3 separate regions of the Homo sapiens genome follow, and regions 2 and 3 are each linked to region 1. Evidence: promoter capture Hi-C in 16 types of primary human blood cells and fetal thymus (Javierre and others, 2016). All regions are on one chromosome and are shown on one strand. Each heading gives the region's core, a stretch centred on a gene start or on the middle of the fragment in contact. The rest is flanking DNA. Distances are from core to core; before and after follow the strand shown. Region 1 holds the start of FASTKD1 (FAST kinase domains 1). Region 2 holds the start of ATF2 (activating transcription factor 2). Region 3 holds the start of NFE2L2 (NFE2 like bZIP transcription factor 2).

Region 1 (3,406 bases), core at 490-2,989:
TTTGCTTCCATTACAATGACTGTAAACGCATTCCAATGTACAGCTTCTATAAAAGAATTGGTTTAACATGGTTATGCTTACATCATTAATATCAAAATGATTCCAAAATTCAAATTAAAGTAATACATTTTTTCTGCATTAACTAAAGACTTTTTCTTAGTCTAAACCAGATAGCAGAATTTGATCAAAAAATAAATGTCCAGAAAAAGGGGCTTCTTTCTGCACCCCATTTTAAAAGTGTTTTAAATCTGACATTTACATAAAGTTTTCAAATTTACCATAAAAGGAAAAAAAAAGCCCACAAACTCAGAGCTGTCTTTTCGAAAAAGAGGAAAATTGTTTAAAATAAATAATCACCTTCAAAGTTTCTAAAAAGTGTAGGCATTAATTCAGAGCCATATATATTTATACATACATATATATATACTTTTTTTTTTTAATTTTTCAGAAGTATGGTCTCAGGTTTATTTGCTTTCAGGATAATTTCTTGCCCCTTTTTCTTGTGCCCTTAAAGAGCTCAAATAATTCCTTTCTTTAGAAAATAAATAAATAAAAGAAGTCATATAATTTAATCATTACTGGCCTTGGATAGGTTTTAACCAATGAACGACACAATTAAAGCACCAATCAAGAAATACTAAGAAATTAAGTAATGTTTCAAGTCATGCTGAAACAATAAAAGAACTAAAGATAATTATGAAAAAAGAATAATTTGTTTTAAAAATATGCTATAAATGTTTACATTTATAATTGAGAAGTAATGGTTAGAAAAGCAGGGACTAAAGTCATATAATCTAATATTTCTGCAACATGTTACCATTTACAAAGAACGTTTGAAACACATTATCTCATTAAATTCTCTCAGCTAACCTTCCAGGTTGATATTATTTCCATTTTACAGATAAGGCAAAATAGGTTCAAAAAGGTTTAAAAAATCCTTCTAGTACTAGTGAAGCAGGGACTACAACTCAGTTCTTTCCACTTGAACAGCTTCATTACACAAACAAATCAACGCTGTATCACTAAATTCATGTCTCAGACCCCTCTCTACGGCTATGCCAAACAGTCTGTTCACAAGAAAAAACGACGCGACAGTACAGGCTATTTTGTGGCAAGCAGTACAGCATCCTGACCTAAGCTGACCTGGGTCACAAACCTGCACAAGAAAACCCTGCACAAATCAAAGGTATCCTCAAGATACTATATTCATCCACTGAGCTGCTCAAAGTGGAGGCAGCTCAATGGTTAGCATAGAAAGGTGTCGAGTCCCCAGCTTTGCCCCAGCTGAATGACCTTAAGGAAGGAACTTAACTACAGGAAGGGCCTTGGGACCCTAAGGGGTATCTTCTGCGCCGGGCATAAAGGAGAGCTAAACAAATGAGTGAATGAATGGGGTCTCAGCCCTGCCCTAGTCCATCCGCACTTCAGAGAACCCAATATCCCGAAGGAAGCCTCCGTATCTCAACTGAACCCTATGTCCCCAGCCCGAAAACGTGCTGGGTGGGAAAAGAAAAATAGCCGCTGCCACACAGTCCCGACTTGCCAGCAAGGTTTTCCCTCAGCGCGCCGCAAATTTTCTGGAGGATCCTGGGGTTATGAAAGCTCAGAAGTCAGGGTTATTCCTGGTCCCAACACGGAACGAAACAGGCTCGGATGTCTCGCCCAACCCTCATATCTCAGGGTTTATAACCTTTCTTCGAGAGACATGACCTTTCCCATGAGACCTTGCCCCCAAACCAGGAAAAAATGCCCGGCAGGCGCAGCGTGCACTGCGGAAGTCACGCACTACATATCCCAGGGTGGGTCGCGGCGAGGTGGGTGAAATGGACGTCGCTCACGCATTTTGGGGGAATTCTGGGCATTGTAGTTCCTCATTGAGGGAGGCTCTAGCGCAGTACACAGCTTAAGCTGTTGAAGAAGATATAGGTCGTTTAGGTGATTCTCTACTATCTAAGGTTGTTCTCCTAGTCCTTGGAAGTCTACTACTTTTATAATATACACAAAAATATACTTAGGAAAATGAAATTTAAAAATGTAAACATGGAAAAGACACGTACAGATTTTTCTTATTATTTTTTAGCATATACGAAATAACTCTGTCGAGTAACTTTGAAAGTATGCAAACTCATACTCTCAGTTTCTGCACTTATGTCGTGGATAGGTACCAGTTCTCAGACCATATTTTTTTTTTACTTACCATGGTATTTTAATAGTCCCAAGATTTGACACTTGACACTTAAAAAAAAAATACCACTAATAAATAACCAAAGTGGAATGCTTACCAAAGTTACAACAGACATAATTTTCAGCTGATAATCACTACAACAAAGTAAGGCTCTAAAGGTACCAAACTGATATTTGTTGGAATATGCTGTGCAACTTTCTTTTTTTTATTTTATTTATTTATTTTTTTTATTGATCATTCTTGGGTGTTTCTCGCAGAGGGGGATTTGGCAGGGTCGTAGGACAATAGTGGAGGGAAGGTCAGCAGATAAACAAGTGAACAAAGGTCTCTGGTTTTCCTAGGCAGAGGACCCTGCGGCCTTCTGCAGTGTTTGTGTCCCTGAGTACTTGAGATTAGGGAGTGGTGATGACTCTTAAGGAGCATGCTGCCTTCAACCATCTGTTTAACAAAGCACATCTTGCACCGCCCTTAATCCATTTAACCCTGAGTGGACACAGCACATGTTTCAGAGAGCACAGGGTTGGGGGTAAGGTCATAGATCAACAGGATAAGAATTTTTCTTAGTACAGAACAAAATGAAAAGTCTCCCATGTCTACTTCTTTCTACACAGACACAGCAACTTTCCGATTTCTCAATCTTTTCCCCACCTTTCCCCCTTTTCTATTCCATAAAACCGCCATTGTCATCATGGCCCGTTCTCAATGAGCTGTTGGGTACACCTCCCAGACGGGGTGGTGGCCGGGCAGAGGGGCTCCTCACTTCCCAGTAGGGGTGGCCGGGCAGAGGCGCCCCTCACCTCCCGGACAGGGCGGCTGGCGGGGCGGGGGGCTGACCCCCCCACCTCCCTCCCGGACGGGGCGGCTGGCCGGGCGGGGGGCTGACCCCCCCACCTCCCTCCCGGGCAGGTCGGCTGGCCGGGCGGGGGGCTGACCGCCCCCACCTCCCTCCCGGGCGGGGCGGCTGGCTGGGCGGGGAGCTGACCGCCCCCACCTCCCTCCCGGACGGGGCGGCTGGCCGGGCGGGGGGCTGACCCCCCCACCTCCCTCCCGGGCGGGGCGGCTGGCCTGGCGGGGGCTGACCCCCACCTCCCTCCCGGAGAGGGTGGCTGCCGGGTGGAGACGCTCCTCACTTCCCTGACGGGGCGGCTGCTGGGCGGAGGGGCTCCTCACTTCTCAGACGGGGCGGCTGCCGGGCGGAGGGTCTCCTCACTTCTCAGACGG
Region 2 (3,318 bases), core at 256-2,755, 5.6 Mb after region 1:
ATTTAAAGATCAGAACGGCTGTTACTCACAATGATAACGCCAGTGGTCATGTTTCTTCAAATAGGACAAAAAGTGTGCTCAAAGAAAGTCAGTTTTTGTTCTGATTTTAAATGTATATCTTAAATGCATGCATTGTGACCGTCTCCATAATTTAAAACCTCTAAGAAATTTAAACTTTCACATTATAATTTAGGGATTAGTCAATCCCTTAGTACCAGTTAAATAATAGCCAGGAAAGCATTAGAAAACCTGAAGGTACATGTAAAGAAATGCTTTACATCACTATTTAAAATAGGTGTTGAATTTTAAGAGAAACATTTCTTTCACTAAAATTTCTGATGCCTAAGGTCCATCAGGAGTAATCTCTTTTACTCCATGATATTCACAGTAGTTTTGCTCTTGGCCTCACCAGTTTTAAGACTCTCCATTAAAGAAAGCCAATTTTATACTACCTAGGGGCACAAAAATAGTTCCCAGCTCCTCCTCTCTTTTTCCTCCTAGGTTCGGTTAAACGAGCGAACATAGAAAACACGTACACACACTCCCTTTCGGCCCTGGTCCCTAGGGCATTGATGAAAAGCAAATTATTTCTTTACATACGCTCTGCTGTCCACCCAGAGATTTAAAAAAAAAAAAATAAGGGAAAATACCAGAATCAGTCTGCACCCACACCTAAGCCCCGCCCCACCGGGAAAAAGCTGGGGGTAGCGGGATTGTGAGGGTGGCGGAAAGGACGGAAAAGGCCGAGACTTCCAGCTCCTAGGTTCTCCACACCATTCTTTCCTTCAAGCTGCACCGCAGCCAGGGACCCTGATTCTATTTTCAGCCGCGCCTCCCGATCCTCCTCCCCGCCACCATCACCAATACACGGTCCTCAATCGCTTGAATACTGGGTGGGGAGACCAGAGTGGGCCCTCTCCCCGCCCAACCCAAGGACTGTGGGTGGGAGAGGTCTCCCTGCGCACACGGCTGACTCGACGCGCGCCCCGAGGACCTCTGAACTGACCCAAGTAGGGTGAAGATAATTCGGAGGGAGGGGTCTAAGAGGGAGCCGTTATTCCTTTTTCCTCTGCCTTAGGAAAGCGCGCGAGAGGGAGGGGCCGGAACAACGAACGCTGGTTACCTAACGGTCCGGCCCAGCCAGTCAGGTTCCCAAAGCCCACACCGCGCGGGCCGCCGAGGTGGCAGCACAGCCACAATCGCCCCAAGGGCTAAGGAGCACGTCAGGAGCACCCGAGGTGATGGGAAACGGGGGGTGGGGACTGTGCTGAGCGACGTCGCCATGTTAGCGCCTTCTTTCTCCGTATCCCTACAGTCTCCAGCCCTGCTGACCTCTGCCCATCGTTACTCACCTTTCCAGGTCACTAGTTCATGATCCTTTCGGTCACCCGCGAGCCCTGAGCACAGCCGTGTTTACAAAGCACCCCTGGAGGAAAAGGCTGAACGGCACTTTAAAGGCCACGGGCTCCCACAGGCTTCCGTCCTCTCTCGCGAGATCGGACTGACAACCCCCGCCCGCTCGCCCCGCTCCCGGCATCCCCACCTTCCTTCTGGCGCCCCTCCCCTTCACCCACACGCCCCTTCTTGCCTTCCTTCTGAGGGAGCGCCTCCGAGTCAGGTGATTCCGTCAGGCTTAAGGAGAAGAAGGCGGGTCTTCGGCAGGGCGGGTAGAGGGGACGGGCATCAAAGAGCACTCGGGCGCTCATGATTGGACAAGGAGCCCGAAGGGCGGGAAGCAGTTCTGGAGGGGGCGGGACCAGAGGGCCCAAGGAGCGTTACTTCTGTAAACCCGGAGCTGTGGAAGACTGTGATTGGCTGTCGGCTGGAGGAGGGCGCGGGTGCAGGCGGCGGTGAAGGGCTAGGCAGGGCTTTGGCGGTGTGAGGGGAGGAAAGGTGGTGAGCTCCGGAAAGGCTGCTAGAGGGAAAGCAGGATGGGTCCTCCGAGCCCAGCCCCAGGAGCCGGGTGTCTCCGTTTCCGTCACTTCCCAGCACTAGGTAGGGAGGTGGGTAAAAGTAGGCTGCGTTCCTCAGCCCACCCCTTGGCTCCCCGGGAGCCTGAGGCGGGGAGCTTCGGGTTAGGTGAGGTTTGGGGGAGGCGGAGTTTGCTGGTAATTGCCCATCCCTCCCCTCCAAAAAACCCCACACAACTTAAAGATTTTAATATTAACTGTAAGGATGTTGGTTATTCAATAAATAGGCACAAGTTGAAAAGTATGATCAGAGGCCTCTGTGAGAATTTACATTATTCAATAAAAGATTTTCAGTGTCTTATTTTTTCCATTTATTAAATACTGATTTCTAGTCTGGAACAAAATTATGAACTAGTTTATATATTAACATAAAATACACTCTCAAAATTGTTGAAAGGTTTTGGGGGATAGTATGAGAGTTAATGAGCCTGAAGTTCAAGAATGATATCTGGCATAAAAGTGAAATTGTAATGGCATTGACATTTTAACAGGTAGGTCTCTGGACCGCATACATGTGTATAAGCCAACTCAGTCCTCTTTTAAAACTAATTTTAGTTAAGAAACATTAAGCCAAATTATTAACACTTTCCTACTTAAAATGAAAGTACCGTCCCCATATAGTAACAGTAATGTAGTAGTGCCATTGTAGTGTAACACTAATTATGTCAGCAAAACCTCACAGTTCAGATTACTCATGATGGAAATGGTGGACAAAATGTTTGATTGACATCACAATTGTTAGGTCTAGAACGCATTGATTAAATAGATGCTTCTCTCTCCATCTCCCAAAACAACTAATGTGAGAAAAAGAACTGCAAATGTTACGACATTTCAAAAGAAGTTTGGGTCAATTAGAATAGATTTTTTTAAAAAAATTGTTTTTCCATTTGAAATTTTTTCCAGTGTTGATTCAATTGGGCAGTAGCTTTGGTTTTAAATTTCTCATTGCTACTTCTCCAGTCTGTTGTCAAGCAGTTAGTTATCTACATGATGCATTCGAGAAACACATTATTTTAAAGAAAGTCTTTCAGTTCTTTTTAGACAAGAGAAGAACTGTTTAGTGATATGAACAGTACTCTGATCTGTTTTGATAATTCAGTTTTAGCTAATTTTCTAAAGAGAGGGTATACCTAAAGTGAGAAAAAAAAATAAGATAGGCGCAGGAAACAGGTGGAAACTATGCCGATCTGTTATATATGCATTTTGGCAGCCCGGCATTTAACAAAGGGTCTCACTTTATCCACATATTTCTAGTTCCACAGCAGTTTGTTTACTATAGTTTTTCTACAAGTGGGGAAAACATTCAGCATTGTCAAAATGAATGTAGTTACCATATTCAGGTCTGATT
Region 3 (3,107 bases), core at 352-2,851, 7.7 Mb after region 1:
AAATATAAATATCTACTTTTAAAGTTTCTACAAAGGATGAGCAGAAACTTCTTTTCACTTTTATAACAATTCACAGAAATTAGCAAGTGTTTTGAAACGCAAGCGTTCCACTCTCTGCCCCTGCAGAAGAGGGGGAACATGTTAAGAAATTGAGGCAAATTCTCAACTGAAAAGGAAACATATATAAAGTACTCAGGGGAGAAATAATAGCTGAAAGCAAAAAATTACTAACAGACTAAAAGCAACAGAAATTCTAATCTACACTCGCAACTCTTACCCTTGACAGCACAGAAGAGAATATCCCGTCTTACACATTTTGGAATTGCAATTCTGAAACGCTAAATCCAAAGACAAAGCCGCTCTGGGGAAAATAGCAATTGCGCAACAGATCAACAGCTCCAACCTGTCCCTTGGCCCTGGCGCGGCGAGGTTTGCACGCTATAAAGCAGGAAAGGGCCAACCGAGGGCTGCTGTGACGGCCAACCGAGCGCTGTCACGGAAGCCAAGGCCACGCGCGCGGTGAGCGCCACCAGGGGGCACCGCGTCCGAACTAGAAGCCCCGGGTGCCGCCGACTCCGGCCTCAGAGTCCACTGCCCTCGCCCGCACTTTCCCGCGGCGTTACGAGGGGCCAACTCCGGGTGCCCGAGCCCGAACCCCTCCCCGGCCGAGAAAGTGCGCGGGGCCCGGCTCAGCCGCCACACGTCGGGGCTTCTGAGCCCGCTGGGCACTTAAGGCGCTCCTCCCTCGTCCCGGGGCTGGGCTTTCAAGAGAGCTCAAGGCTGCCAGAGAGTGATCCGAGAGATGGATGACTTCGCAAAGCCGCGCCCACAGACGGCCCAGCGGGGTGAGCGCGTCGCAGCCCGCACTCAAGGAGGTCTTGGGGCGCGGCGAAGGGGCTCCGGGTCCCAGCCCGAAGGCGACCTCAGTTCCCCCGAGAGCGGCCCCGTGACTAGGCACATTTTTGCCGGCACCGAGGCGGGGGAGCCGCGCAGCCCCGGAAGGGCCGGGCCGCGCCGGCTCAGACGGCCAGCGTCCGCCCCCTCTTGCCCCGCCGCCCACCGGGCCGCTCAAACTTAGGGGCTCCGGAGTCCCAGCTCTCGGGCCCGGGGACGCGGCTGGATTCTCCCCCAAGGCCCACGCGAGCGGGCTCAGTCCCCAGACCTTCCCGCAACTTCCCACCCGTTCGCCCTCGGGCTCGTGGTCGGTCGGATCACCCGGCCGCGTCCCCGCTGCCCCTCCCCGCCCTGCCCCGGCGCAAGCGCGGCGGCTCTACCCAGCGCCGCGGTCCTGGCTCTGGCCAGACGTGGGGGAAGCCGGTTGCGGCTGTCCCTCCCGGGCCGCGGTTCCCTAGCTCCCCCGCCCCCGTCCCGGCACCACCGCAGGGCCCAGAGGGCCGAGGCAGCACCTGCTGGGACGGGAGTCCCGGCGGCGGCAGCTCCAAGTCCATCATGATGAGCTGTGGACCGTGTGTTGGGGCTCCCCGACGGCGGCCCTGTTCCGGCTGCCGAGGCGCGGCGCGGACAGGGCGGCTCTGGTGGCGGCGGCGGCGGCGGTGGCGGCTGCGTCGGCGGCTCCTCCGGGCTCCCCGGCACTCGGTAATCGGCTACACGCCGGCGGGCCCCTGCCCCGCTCCGCCTCCCGCCCCACAAGGGCGGGGCAAGAGTCCGGGCCCTTCCTTCCCCCGCCGGCCGCGCGGGCTGAGCTTCCGAAAATCCCCCACCCGCGCCGGGGCTGACGCAAGAAGCTCGCGGTCCGGGGGCGGGAAGGGACTGCCAGCTGGGGTCCCAGCAGGCGGGGGACCTAGAGGAGGTCTCCGTTAGCTCCCCGGTGCCGGCGTTCAGTTTGCCCTCCCCCGCAAATAAGGGCAGCGCTCTCGCCCGCGAGATAAAGAGTTGTTTGCGAAGGTCGCTGGAGTTCGGACGCTTTGAAACAGTTTAAACAGTTGGAACAAACACACCCGGAGCCCCGGAAAGGCGTTGGTGTAGGAGCTGCGCCTCCCTGATTTGGAGTTGCAGAACCTTGCCCTGCTTTTATCTCACTTTACCGCCCGAGAATGGCGCCAGCCGGGGTGGGGGGGGCTAAAGATTTGGACCCAGACCGTGCCACTGCCAACTGCCCTCCCGCCCTTGCTCCCTTCCCGGGCTGGGGCCAGTGGGCCCTGCCTAGGGGAGATGTGGACAGCTCCGGCAGCTCGTGTTCGCAGTCACCCTGAACGCCCTCCTCTGAACTCCCACGTGTCTCCATTCTCCTAAGCTCAGGTCGTCAAAGGCAAACGGAGAAGCCCCTTTAGGTCGGAGAGTGGTCAGTATTGCCCACCCAGAGCTGGGAGAAAAACGGGAACCCCAAGAGAACCTCTTCCCACCAAAGCGCAGCCACCACGCCACAGATGGCGCCCTTCAACAGTGTGTAATACCACAACATGCTGTAATCGTTTACTCTTTACAAATTTCTTTTTCACGTACTCACAAAATAGTACAAATTAAAAAAAGTTACAAAAACGTTTGTATAGTATTGGCTCATTTTATAAAAACGTGCCTAGAAAAAAATTGAAGGTTACCAATATATTAAATGCTGTGGAATCAACGATTTTTATGTTTCTCCTTGTTACTTCCAAGTATGCTTTAAATCTGCAGTGCGTATGTTTTATGTCTTACATTAAAAACAATTATTTAAAAATTAATCATTGCCCAGAGAAGACTTCAAGTATTTGAAACGAGGAATATTGTGAACTCTTATAAGGGTTCAAAGAGGATAGATAAATGGTTTAGTTTTGTTTTTTTCTTCCTCTTCTGCATTTACAATCTTTCTAACTCTATACAAGACTGGTTTTCAGTTTCTAGCTTCCTGGAATTATTCAAAACCAGGTGAAGTAGATAATACTGGCAGTGGTTTTGCTATTTCATTCAAAAACCACACACACACCCCTGACTATAGCAATCAACGCCCAAAAAGCTGCAGAGCTTACTTTCTCTAGGTTGCATAATTTGACACTCCCAGGATTTATGTGTAAATTTGTATATTCAGATATTCCTTGAGATAAGTGAAGCCTAAATTAATTACTTGTAATTGAAGCAAGCTTCTTTAACTCCTATTAATTCCTTTCAGC

What was found. Contacts are between HindIII fragments. The CHiCAGO score rates a contact against its expected background, and 5 or more counts as called.
Region 2: a contact is called between the fragment with the promoter of ATF2 here and the fragment with the promoter of FASTKD1 in region 1, in 3 of 17 cell types (total B cells, naive CD8 T cells and total CD4 T cells). The highest score is 19.5, in total B cells.
Region 3: the fragment with the promoter of NFE2L2 here is called in contact with the fragment with the promoter of FASTKD1 in region 1 in 2 of 17 cell types (activated CD4 T cells and total CD4 T cells); the score reaches 7.1 in activated CD4 T cells.

Annotation. Positions count from the first base shown.
Region 1 is chr2:169,572,126-169,575,531 of GRCh38, forward strand. FASTKD1 (FAST kinase domains 1) reads right to left here and starts at 1,740. Exons shown (of 15, transcript NM_024622.6): 1 at 1,544-1,740; 2 at 1-46. RefSeq lists enhancers at 1,322-1,491, 1,347-1,949, 1,852-1,951. The HindIII fragment of the contact is 12,279 bases long and covers 1-3,406 here.
Region 2 is chr2:175,166,698-175,170,015 of GRCh38, forward strand. ATF2 (activating transcription factor 2) reads right to left here and starts at 1,506. Exons shown (of 14, transcript NM_001880.4): 1 at 1,353-1,506. It overlaps MIR933 (microRNA 933), which reads right to left and starts at 1,012; the gene lies at 936-1,012. RefSeq lists a silencer at 1,455-1,524. The HindIII fragment of the contact is 6,773 bases long and covers 1-3,318 here.
Region 3 is chr2:177,263,126-177,266,232 of GRCh38, forward strand. It overlaps NFE2L2 (NFE2 like bZIP transcription factor 2), which reads right to left and starts at 1,602. Exons shown (of 5, transcript NM_006164.5): 1 at 1,407-1,602. The coding sequence starts at 1,451. RefSeq lists an enhancer at 1-775 and silencers at 456-615, 876-1,745. The HindIII fragment of the contact is 5,708 bases long and covers 1-3,075 here.